Regions from separate parts of the Homo sapiens genome. Here region 1 is linked to region 2. The links are contacts of gene promoters, found by promoter capture Hi-C in human tissues and cell types (Jung and others, 2019). All regions are on one chromosome and are shown on one strand. Each heading gives the region's core, a stretch centred on a gene start or on the middle of the fragment in contact. The rest is flanking DNA. Distances are from core to core; before and after follow the strand shown. Region 1 overlaps CDH6 (cadherin 6). Region 2 holds the start of CDH6 (cadherin 6).

Region 1 (5,509 bases), core at 1,254-3,753, 37 kb after region 2:
ATAATCTCCACAGCTCAAGATCCTTAACCATATCTGCGGTCTCTTTTGCCATGTGAGGTATTAATAACATAGTTCTGTGGATTGGGACGTGGGCATATTTGGAAGGCCTTTGTTCTGCCTGCTGCAGATCCCCAGTGCCAAGGTTCAGGAAGTGAATCAGCTGGAGAAGGAAGCTGCATTCACCTTGATTCCAAACTTTGTGGAATGGAGAAAAGTATGTCCCAGGGTCAGACACCCATGGACTCCCACCCCAGCTTTGCCAATAACCCAGTTGTACAATCCTAGGCAGTGGTCCCCAACCTTTTTGGCACTAGGAACTGGTTTTGTGGAAGAAAATTTTTCCACAGATGTGGTGGGGTGAGCAGAGGATATGGTTTCAGGATGAAACTGTCCCACCTCAGATCATCATGCGTTAGCTACATACTCATAAGGAGCACGCAACCTGCATCCCTCACATGCGCAGTTCACAATAGGGTTCGCCCTCCTATGAGAATCTAATGCCTCTAATACAGGAGGCGGAGCTCAGGCTACAATGCTGGTTCACCTGCCACTCACCTCCTGCTGTGTGGCCGGGTTCCTAACAGGCTGCAGACTGGTACTGGTCCATGGCCCCAGAGGTTGGGGAACCCCTGATCTTAGGCATGTTATTTGATCTCTCCAAGATTTATTTCCTTTCCTGTAATGTGGGGAAAATAATGCATCTCTCATAGGGCATAAAAAGTACAAAAGTACCTTATATAATGATAGACTCTTAGTAGATGTTCAATACAGGTTAGTTCTTTCTCCATTCTGACACTGACAGGTCTAATTACCCGTCATACTAACTAGCACTTGCGTGCCATTTCCAAGGGTACCAACTGCCCAAACTATATCATTTTATTTAATCTACAACACAGCCCTCAAGCTCTACCCGATTCTCCAAAACCTGAGTCCGATCAAGGTGAAGAGACTCAGTCAGTGATAAAGGAAGAAAGGGCAAAACAAAGACTGCAAGCCTACTGGTTTGACTCCAAATCTGGTGCTTTACTACCCTGGCTAACAGACCTCTTGTTATCCAGTTCTGGTCACCATACTGGTTAGAAATTAAATGTTTGGCCAAAATAGATTGGAGGGTAGGAAATGAAGCATATTGCCTGTTATCTTTGTGAAGTTTGCAGAAAAGCAAAACAGAATGAGGAACTGGAGGCTCAGGAAAATATTTTCTCTCTGGAGCTGTTAGGCATTTGTAACAAGTTGTTAAGGCAGCTTGGCTCTTACGACTGTATGGCTGGTGCCAATTTGGAAGCTTTTATAGGTCTCTAGTTCCCCTGATATTATTGGCTAAACCAATAAGTGGTTAATTTTTTTATGTAAAAAGAATTCTAACTCTGAAAACACTTGTGAGAATTCAAGAAACTCCGGAGTCCCACCTAAGGATTTTTTAGTGAAAGAATGAATTATGACAAAGAGAAATGCAATTGTGGACCATCATAGTAGCTGAATAAACATTTCTCAGTACTTAATGTCACAGAACATAGGAAGAAGTTTTGTGTTTTTGTTGTTGTTGCTCTTAATTGGGATTATTAAGGAGCAGCATAATTACGGGCTGAGGCTTTTTGCCCTTGGTGACGTAAGGGACTTTGCTCTCCATTCTCCTGGCTGGTGATTATCAGGCCAGTGACTTGGATCCTGGTATGACAATTAAGATTGAGTAGTGTCATCTGTTTCATAATTAAATTCTATCTTCCATATCCTTTGAATGCTGTATGGGCGTTTAATTGGCGGATGCTATTTCTGCTGCCACTGTGGCGTGTCTGAACAACAAAGTCAAAATAACAGTGATTCCGCTCCTTGCAGAATATCCCAGTTGAAGAGAATTTGCTTTCTCTTTGGCACAGAAAGAGCCCTGAAGTCCCAATTTAGACACAGCAGTTAAGAAGTTGAGGGCCTCTGAATTCCTGCAGGTTCTCACTCAAGGTGATATTTAGGGTCTACCATTGCAAATTAAAAGATCAACTTAACTTGCATGGGAGAAAAGTCATCTCTGTCCTGTAGATGACTTCTCCAAAGACATAGAGAACTCACTAGGGGATCATACACAGGTTTGTCTGTATAACCATCACAGGCAGAGAATATCTTTTTTTAAAAGTCTGGCTCATTTTCCTTCACTTACTAGAAAAAGAGTCTCTGAGAGTATGTATTAAAGTATTTATGTTAAACACCGTTAAAATACACTTCCAGTGTATTTATTAACAGAGAATTCAGAAGCATTAGGCCTCCTCTACAGATGTATCTTCCTGTTGCATCTTTAAGAAAGCAGCGGAAGATGTTTAAGACCATGAGTAATGTACTCAGTGAAAAATGAGAAAAGAAACTTATAGGCAAAGCAAAGAGAAACAAATCCTCCGTGCAAAAATGAAAATGCTATTTTTTTAAAAACTAACCTATGATTTAGAAACCATCTGCAGAATAATCTTGATTGTGTCCTCAAGTAGAACAACAAATCCATTGAGTTTAATCAAACTCAAAATAATTCTAAAGAGAAATTAGAGATGTATACAAAAGAAGCTAAACAATACAGTATAGCATCCAGGTAAAAATATTATATGCTAATTAATAAACAATTGTAGGGGACTTCATGAACTGTGAATGAAAAGATTAGTGTGAATCTTTATGCAAAATGCTTAAATCCATGTTAAGACGAACAAACTCTTTAAAATGTAAAACCTACACATATAAAAATATGCAGGAAACACAATATGCTCTTTTAAATATTCTTCTAATCACATGATTATATTTTAATTATAGTTTTCATTTGTTGAAAGTATATTCAAATGCAATATTTTTCTTTTCTTCTGGATAACAGTCTTCACTGCCTTATTTTCATCTTAGGGTGATTCAGCCTATAATGATTTAGAGGCCAAATGTTCAAACTCTTTTTAACAGATTACTCACGATGCAATTAAAATTAAATTATGTGCATAAAATTGATATTTTAATCAAATCATTGCGTATCTCCATAGTGGTTTAGCAATAAGGAGAAAAAGACTGGCCTGAAATTCCCAGGATTTTGTCTTCCTTGCCCTTTGGGAATTTCTTTCCTTTTTAGTATCCTTAACAGATTACTGTTTGGCGGGGTCAGAATTCCCATGAATCATATTTAAAGCAGTTCCAGCTTATTTTGAATATTTCATGGACGCTTCCTGTCTCAGTCCATTTTCTGTTGCTCGTAACAGAATGCCTGAAACTGGGTAATTTATAAAGAAAAGGAATTTATTTCTACAATTTGGAGAGCTGAGAAGTCCAAGGTCAAGGGGACATATCTGGTGAGGGCTTTCTTGCTGGTAGAGACTCTATGCAGAGTCCCAAGGTGGCACAGGCCACCACATGGCAAGGAGGCTGAGTGTGCTAGCTCAGATCTTTCTTCCTCTTCTTATAAAGCCTCCAGCTTTACTCCCCATGATAACTCACTAATTCATTAACCCACTATTTCATTAATCCATTAATCCATGCATGAACCTCTTAAAGGTCCCACGTCTCAATAATGCCACACTGGGGATTAAATTTCAACATAAGTTTTGGAGGGGATAAATATTCAAACCATAGCACTTCCTCTGTAGCTCAGCCTCTAACATAAAGAGATAAAAGGGCATTACCATGTCCAGTTTTAGACCTTTGCTCTTAGAAGAAAAATATTCACTTAAGGAGTAGAGTAAGCCTACTATAATTATGTTTCTTTTCAAATCACCCTGATTTGTTTCTCTTGTTCTGCAGGAATTATTTTGTATCTTCCCATTCTTGACCTCTATGTCAAGTGACTGTTTCAGACTTCACAACTTAGGCATCACCATTTAGCTTCTACTTCTGGTCTTACACTACTTTGTTTCTCACTCTTTAATTAGAAATGGTTAATTTGACTTCATGTCTTAAGGCAAGGAGAAAATGAGTCTTAAACAGTATTAAGCTCCCATAAATATTTCACTTTATGCTAATTCCTGTGCTTCCAGCTGAGCCGTTTGAAGTTCTCAAAAAAGTGTTTCTGTTCCCCTCAATTAAATACATAACTGGAAAACAGTAAAATAATTATCAGTTTTACTACCCTGCACTTTATTTTCCAAGCTTTCATTCTGGACGTTTTAAATTTTTCTTCCACATTTTTCTTCCACTAACCCAACCCAGTGTCATAGGTGCTGCCTCCAGCCTGGTTAGACTCTAAGACCCAGGCTTTGGAGGAATCTTAGAGCTCCCTCAAGTGGACATACGTTTAATGCACCCTTAATCTCTACAAAACGTTTTTGGCTGCACCCTCGGTCCAGGACAGGAGTATTTAACTGTCCCAATTTAGAAACATAAGTAGTTTCCTCTTTAAGCTAAAAATATTCTGAAAAGAAAGAAAAGTTCAAACAAGTTTGCAAAGCAAATGGATTTGAGTGGCCAATGAAAACATATCAAGTCAGGCTTTTTAGTTATTGGTTTTGCTTGTGAGAATGTAACTTGGAATTATTAATTACAATATCATCTATTCATTTGGATAAAATGTTATCTGTTGAGGAAATTATAAATGCAACACTTATATGGCACTTATGCTATTGCCACATGTACCATACACCAGGCATTGTTCTAAGAGTTTTCCATATATTAATTCATTTCATCCTCACAACATTCCTCCAAAATAGGTCCTTTAATACTCCCCGTTGTACAGATGAAGAAACTGAGTCACAGAGAAGTTAAATAACCTTTCAAAGGTTGCAGAGCTAGAATATGGAAGAGCCAGTGTGCAAACCCAGGCAGCCCAAAGTTCACTATATCATGCTGTTTCTTACCATGCAATGAACAACTGAATATACAAATACACACACACGCGTACATAGACATATCTCTATAAACACACTTATATATGCACATACGCCTTCACATGTTACACATCCACACACATATACACACAAATGCACACATATACACATACAGAGAGTATATATTATAAGGAGCATATTTTACACAAAAAAATAAAGTATAAAAGCTAAAAGAGAAGAGAGATAAATTACAAACATTTTAATCAAAGCTTTAAAAACTTTACTTATCCAACCTGGGCAACATGGCAATGCCCCGTCTCTACAAAAAAAAAAAAAATACAAAAATTAACCGGGCATAGTTGTGCACACCTGTAGTCCCAGCTACTCAGGAGGCCGAGGTGGGAGGATCGCTTGAGCCTGGGAGGTGGAGGTTGCCATGAGCCAAGATCATGCCACTGCACTCCAGCTGGCATGACAGAGTGGGACTCTGTCTCAAAAAAAAAAAACAAAACAAAAACTTTGCTTATCATATTTCCTTGTTATTGCTTATCATTACTCATTAAAATTTCTGGTCATCTCATCTCTTACTCTAATTCACTTACTCTGACCTTGCTTCATTAAGACCATTGAAAGTTTCTTTCCTGTGTGGCTACGACATTTGCTGTTTTTTCTACTGGAAACTTCCGCCAGTTCTTCCCATGACTGGCTCATTGTCATGATTCCAGTTTCTTCACGGA
Region 2 (5,932 bases), core at 447-2,946:
TTACCAATAATATTTCTGCTTCTTGTGTGTTCCAGTTTCACTGCCTTGGACATGTTATGTAACTTCTGTTGTCTCTTCATCAGTCTGTTTTCTCTGTCTTAATTGGGAAAATATGACACCACTTATTGAAGGATGAATTAAATAAAATAGTCTACAAAAGTACTTTGTAAACAGTAAAGGACTACACAGACACACAGAGCTAATATTTCCAATTAAATGTATAAGAAATTCATAATCTGACGAATGGACTATGAATCTAAAGCAGCTTTCTTCTCCCCCATTCTTACTTCATACGTGTTTAAAGAGCTCTATAAAAAGAAAATGTTCAGCCTCTTCTCACAAATTGGTAGCAATTCTTCATTTGGGGAAGGTCTTTTCCAGAAAGAAACTCAAATCTTTCCATCTTCCATGTGCAGAACATCTGTGCTAAAACCATTCCATGCACACTTCTTTGAAGCACTGGCTGCCTAAAGGAATACTTTTGATTTGGGCTTTATTTAAATGCCTGAACTTCTATTGGAGAAACAAAAGGTTTTCTAGTAAGAGCTCAGTTGGGAACAGGACCAACCTCCAGCCAGTTTAACTACTCAGAGGCCAAGCAGCCTGGCATTTCTTAGAGCTCTGTGCAATGGAAATCTCCCTGAGAACTTGCAGCACAGGCGAACAGCTGGTTTGGGAGGCTAGTGACCCTGGGTGCAATCACTGTGGTAATTAGATTTAATTTTCCTAATCCAACAGTGGCTGACTCCATCATGCCTATGTCTCCTATGTAGAAAATCATTACTCTCATTTAATGGTACTTTGACATGTTTCACATTTTTGTGGCTTAGTACCTTAACATTAGATATTACCTCTTTGTAACTATCAATCTAGCCATTCAAACAGCTATGTGTACTAAAGAGTTTAATTTGAAGGTTATCCAACTTCGGCAACTTTCCAGAAGGATCTTCGAACGTTAAGCAGACCTTGAATATCATTGTACACCCCTCTTCTGCAAGTCTTTTGTATGCTTGTATCAATTCATTTAGAACGATGGCATCAGTCATAAGTCATTGGCAAGCCTGAAGGGTTTGGGTTTTCAGTGTTTCTGCAAGCCCAGGGAAGCATGGCTTCATGCTACGACATCCTGGGGTCACTCCAAAAGAGTAACAGAGATCATGGGGCTACGTGAAAGCGTGTCTTCCTGGGAGGAGAGAAGGAAAGACATGTATGAATCTATCCATGTCTGCTTGCATCTGGAGAACGCCTGTTTATGTTGTAAAGAAAAGCCATCGGTATTGTCATCTCAGGAGACCGGCTTGTTTTATGTGTGTGCATGTTATACGTGCTATCACACGAAGCTGGCCAACTGATAGAGTGACGAGGTACTGTGTCCCTGGGAATTGTAATTGCTTGGTCGGTGAAAAAAAAAGAACATCAGACCATTGCTGATAATAGCACAAGGTGCATTTTGATAGTACAAAAGAGGAAACAGACGGAGTCATACAAGTTCTGAGTATATCTTAAACCCCCTCCAACAAAAAAAAGAAAGAAAGAAAGAAAGAAAGAAAGCAAGGGAAAGCCTGGGGCTGAAGGAGTGTTCCAGGGAGCGAATTGCTCAGGACTTCAAACACTGGGAGTCATTCTGTCAAGGGGAGGGGGCGGGCGGGGGCAGGCACTGGGCCTCTTTAACAAAGTCCTCCTCTCTTTGCTCCCTCCCACTTCATTCACTTGCAAATCAGTGTGTGCCCACAAGAGCCAGCTCTCCCGAGCCCGTAACCTTCGCATCCCAAGAGCTGCAGTTTCAGCCGCGACAGCAAGAACGGCAGAGCCGGCGACCGCGGCGGCGGCGGCGGCGGAGGCAGGAGCAGCCTGGGCGGGTCGCAGGGTCTCCGCGGGCGCAGGAAGGCGAGCAGAGGTGGGTTCGGGCTCCGTTGGCTATGCATACATCTCCCTTTTTTTTTTTTTAATTCTGTAGCGTTGATAGAAGCCAATCAGAGAGAGAGCCCTCTCCGCCCGGTGGGTGCCGCGCCGGAGTTGGGAGGGATGCTCTCAGCCTGCGAGCCCGGGTCGGGGCGGGCGCGCGGGTCCGGCTGCGCGGGCGGCGCTGCTGCCGCTGCTCAGGACCGACGCCGCTTCCCGGGGAGCCTGGGCACCGCTCCTCCGCCTCCTGGTAAGACCGATCCGCCGTGGGGCTGGGTGGGGGCACCGGGAAGCGGGCCGCCGCAGAAGAACCCGCTGCCTTTCTCTACGCCGGCAGAGGCTGCCAGGGGAGCTCTGGCATTTGCAAAGTTGGCTGGTCAATTACCAAAGGGCGCTGGTGCGTGCAGGTCCCGCCGAGCCGTTTGGGGCTTGATTTATCTCCACCTGCCCGCATCATAAGGGTCTGCGTGGTGACTGCTTGGGCTGAGTTACATTTCTTAGCTTTTGGGGTAAAGCAGAAAATCAGGTAGTCTGAAAACTCTGGAATGCTCCCAGTAAGGAAAACTTAAACTAAAGAGACGATTTGGCTGGTAGAAGGAGCTAAAGAAAACTGTTAGCTTGCACGTTCCGGGCAACGCCTGCCGGCTCATCTAGGACAGAAATGCTTAGGTTGCAAGGAAAGTCCAACACTGGACTCCGAAAATGGAGCACACTGTCCAGGGAAAAGTCATATGGAAGGCGCAGTTCGCTCGTGCTCCTCCACGGCTGGCCAGGCTCAAATCTGGGGGATAAAGCCTTCCCCGGACTGATTGGAGAGTGGTTGGAGTGCGCTTGGTTTTCGGTGCCAGATGCTGGAAAATTGGAGCCCCCAATGCGTTAATCCCAGAATTTAATAAAAAGGGACGCTGCAATGTTGTGGACTGCAGCAGTTGCAGAGCTGAGATTACTTCTTCCGTAGTTAGATATTCTGTCATGAGTTACCGTAGATCTCGAGATGGGAGATGCTGGAGAGGTCAGCGTGGTGCTAAGAAGTGTCACTGCTGCAATAAAATCCATATTTTATGGGGAGTTAAATGCAGGTCTCTGTCAGTGCAAAGGGCTGGCCACCTGAGTTAACTATGACTCAGAACATTCAAGAACCAAGAAGTTTAATCATCTGGAATAGCCACACATTTCTGTCTCCTACTCCCATTAAAAAAAAAAAAAATTTAAATGATGATAGTCATACTATAGAGGTGTATCAGACCGTGTCTCTGCGAATCTTCACTTTCACTTCGTAAAGCACACAGTGGGAAAGAAGGAAGAGGTTTTCCCTGCAAGAATGTTGCAGGAGTGGCTGTTGTGTACATATATGGCTGCTCTGGAGGGGTGCAGATCAAAATGTGGGCTTTCTGAGTGGTTAATTATCCAGGGGGTTGCAAACTCCTCCCTGTGTTGGAAAAAGGAACCCAGGGATATGCCTAGTTAATGTACAACTCTTCCAAGAAGGACTAACAAATATGCTTATATGAATAGTGCCAAGGGTTGCTTATTTCCTTTCTTTTCTTGCTGAAAGCTTTACCTGAAAAGGAAAACCCTTAGGATTTTACTTTGAGAGAGAGAAAAAAAATCTCTTCCAGTTTCACCTGAGACTTGAGCATCATCCCGTGTGTAATAGTACTTGCACGGCTCTATGCTTGCATTTTAGAGAACCGTAAAACCAGTTGTGTGAAGAAAGGGGTATGCTTGAGCAGATGTCTTCATTATGTCATAACCAGGAGGGTAAAGTTTATGCCAGAGGCCAGATTGTCAATGCAGAGCTCAGAAACTTAAAAGAAACCCAACAATTGACTGGAAAATGCAATCACATAGGGTTGTATCTCATCCCCTTTTGCTCTTTGATGTGTTCTAATTAAAAAGGTACTGAAGGAAAATAAAAGACAGATCTTTTCCCACCTAATGTAATGGTTCATGCCATACTTTTGAAGCAGAGGAAGTAACCAATTTCTTCAGAAAAACTAAGAGGCAGCAGCCCAATTTTGAAGGAAAATGGTGCCAATTCAGTTCTACTGTATTTGTGTCTACAATTATCTTTTGCTACCATTACAAGAAAGTGACAGTTTGGTATCTCCATAGGGACTTTTAGTCCCTTTACTATCTGGCTTTTACACCAATTTATTGCACTTACATTTTGTACTGCTAACTCTGCAAAGATAATATATGGAAACATAATCATTTTCTACCAAGTTGCCTACTATCAAAAAACGTGTACCCTACCTCTTCCACCCACCACTTCCATCAGCTTTGCAAGGAAAAACTTAGTGAGGCACTCTTCCTTTTTAAGAAAAAATGTACCTTGCAAAATACTGCTCGAGACACTTGAAAACAGCTAAAAATTTTCTAGAAAGCACAGCTACAGTCACAGGGTATTATATGATACTGTATTATTATAGCACCAAATCTGAAAATTAGGACTAATTGAGTGAATGTCCCACAGAGATTTCTTTAAAAGGAATGAAATGTGACCAATATTCTGAGTGAAACTACAATCTTCCTAAGGAATTGAAATGTGTGGTCCCCCCTTCTGGCCCGGTAGTTGCTTTGCAGTCACGAATGCCAACACACTAAGGCTGAATCCTTTGAACTATTCAAACTTTTTTTAGTTGGAAGGGACCTCTAGTGGGTCACTCCATGCATTTCTCCCTGGAGTTCAGCTGCAGAATGGATTTTGTTACCTAAGATAAGAGTATAACAACTTTTTCTCTGTAGACAAGTTAGTATTCTCTAAGCACTATCTTAATATTTGTGACAGGTCAAATCATTATTGCTATTATTTCTGTACTTCCTCTAATTTAGGGGACTTACAAATATTTTTATGGTTTTCTGAATATCTAGACTTTTGGTAACTGCTGGATGATTCCAAATGAAAGCAATGGCCAATTAATAAAGAATTTACCATCATCAATATAAGATTTTCTTATTTCTGATCTTTTCCAAGACTCTACTTCCTTACTTCTAATTTACTCAATAACAATAATAACATTATATTTAGAACTCCAAAAGTTCTACATGAAGAGCGCCGCCGCCCCCCGCCCCCCAACCAACAACAAGAAAAGAAATATTTGCAGGAAAAAAAAGTGCAATGACTGTTTCAGAAATCTGTGAACATTCACAAGTTATGCTGAACTAAGGCCATCTAATTCAAAGAATTCCCCGTTCAAATAAATATATGTTGAACATCCAAAAGCTGTTTAGATACCTGTGTCATCCTTACTCCAGGTTTTTTCTGTTTCATTTCTTTCCTTGATGTATCACAACACATTTTAGGTAACCTACTCCTTAAAATACTCTGCCTGGAACTTGGAGCAGCATAATTTCTGTAGGGTGAATCAGCCTCTTCTGCTGACAGCCTGCAGGTTTCAACTTCCAATTTAAAAATCTGTTCTAAAGTTTGAAATGTGTTCCAAATAAGATAACATCCAGCAGAATCCAGTTGCCTTGTGCTTCTTGCTTAGTCATGGCTGCTTATTCTTTGGTGTCCGTCAGAATTAGGGTCTCACTTATAAAAATAACAAGCAGTGACTCAGTCTGAATTGCATTCTTAACAGTGTTTCAACCTAGTCAGTGTCTACTGAGCACACTTTATTTACTTCACAAAAAAAGTGAAAATGTAGACAATCAAACTTTCTCTGGTTTAAATATTTTTCTGAATAATGATTCTAAATTCAAAGACTCAAGAACATTATGGTAATAGGAGAACTGCAGAAAGAAGAAGGCATACACACACACGCAAACACAGCACCCAGTTGTGACAATGTTCCAAGAATATTAGAGAAGAAATACAGAAATGCAGCATATGGGCTGATTTTCTTTTCTTCTTCGTTTTTTTCATGTTGTTTTCTCCCTTGGGATTTTTATTTTATTTTGAAGACAGATGAGTGCTTGAAGCACTTTACTGAAACTAAATAGTAATATTTTTGTTCCAGCTTGCCTTTTCCAAAGATTAACTGGTCTACTTTTTTAAGTTTCTATTCGTACAGAAGCCTCTCTT

What was found. Contacts are between HindIII fragments. The study calls those that stand out against the background at their distance.
Region 1: a fragment that was not itself captured here is called in contact with the fragment with the promoter of CDH6 in region 2 in 1 of the 25 tissues and cell types used here (aorta).

The regions. Positions count from the first base shown.
Region 1 is chr5:31,228,249-31,233,757 of GRCh38, forward strand. All of the region lies in intron 1 of CDH6 (cadherin 6), which reads left to right. Among named protein-coding and RNA genes, the nearest start is that of CDH6, 37 kb to the left of the region's middle. The HindIII fragment of the contact is 4,132 bases long and covers 438-4,569 here.
Region 2 is chr5:31,191,990-31,197,921 of GRCh38, forward strand. It overlaps CDH6 (cadherin 6), which reads left to right and starts at 1,697. Exons shown (of 12, transcript NM_004932.4): 1 at 1,697-1,897. The HindIII fragment of the contact is 7,217 bases long and covers 1-4,941 here.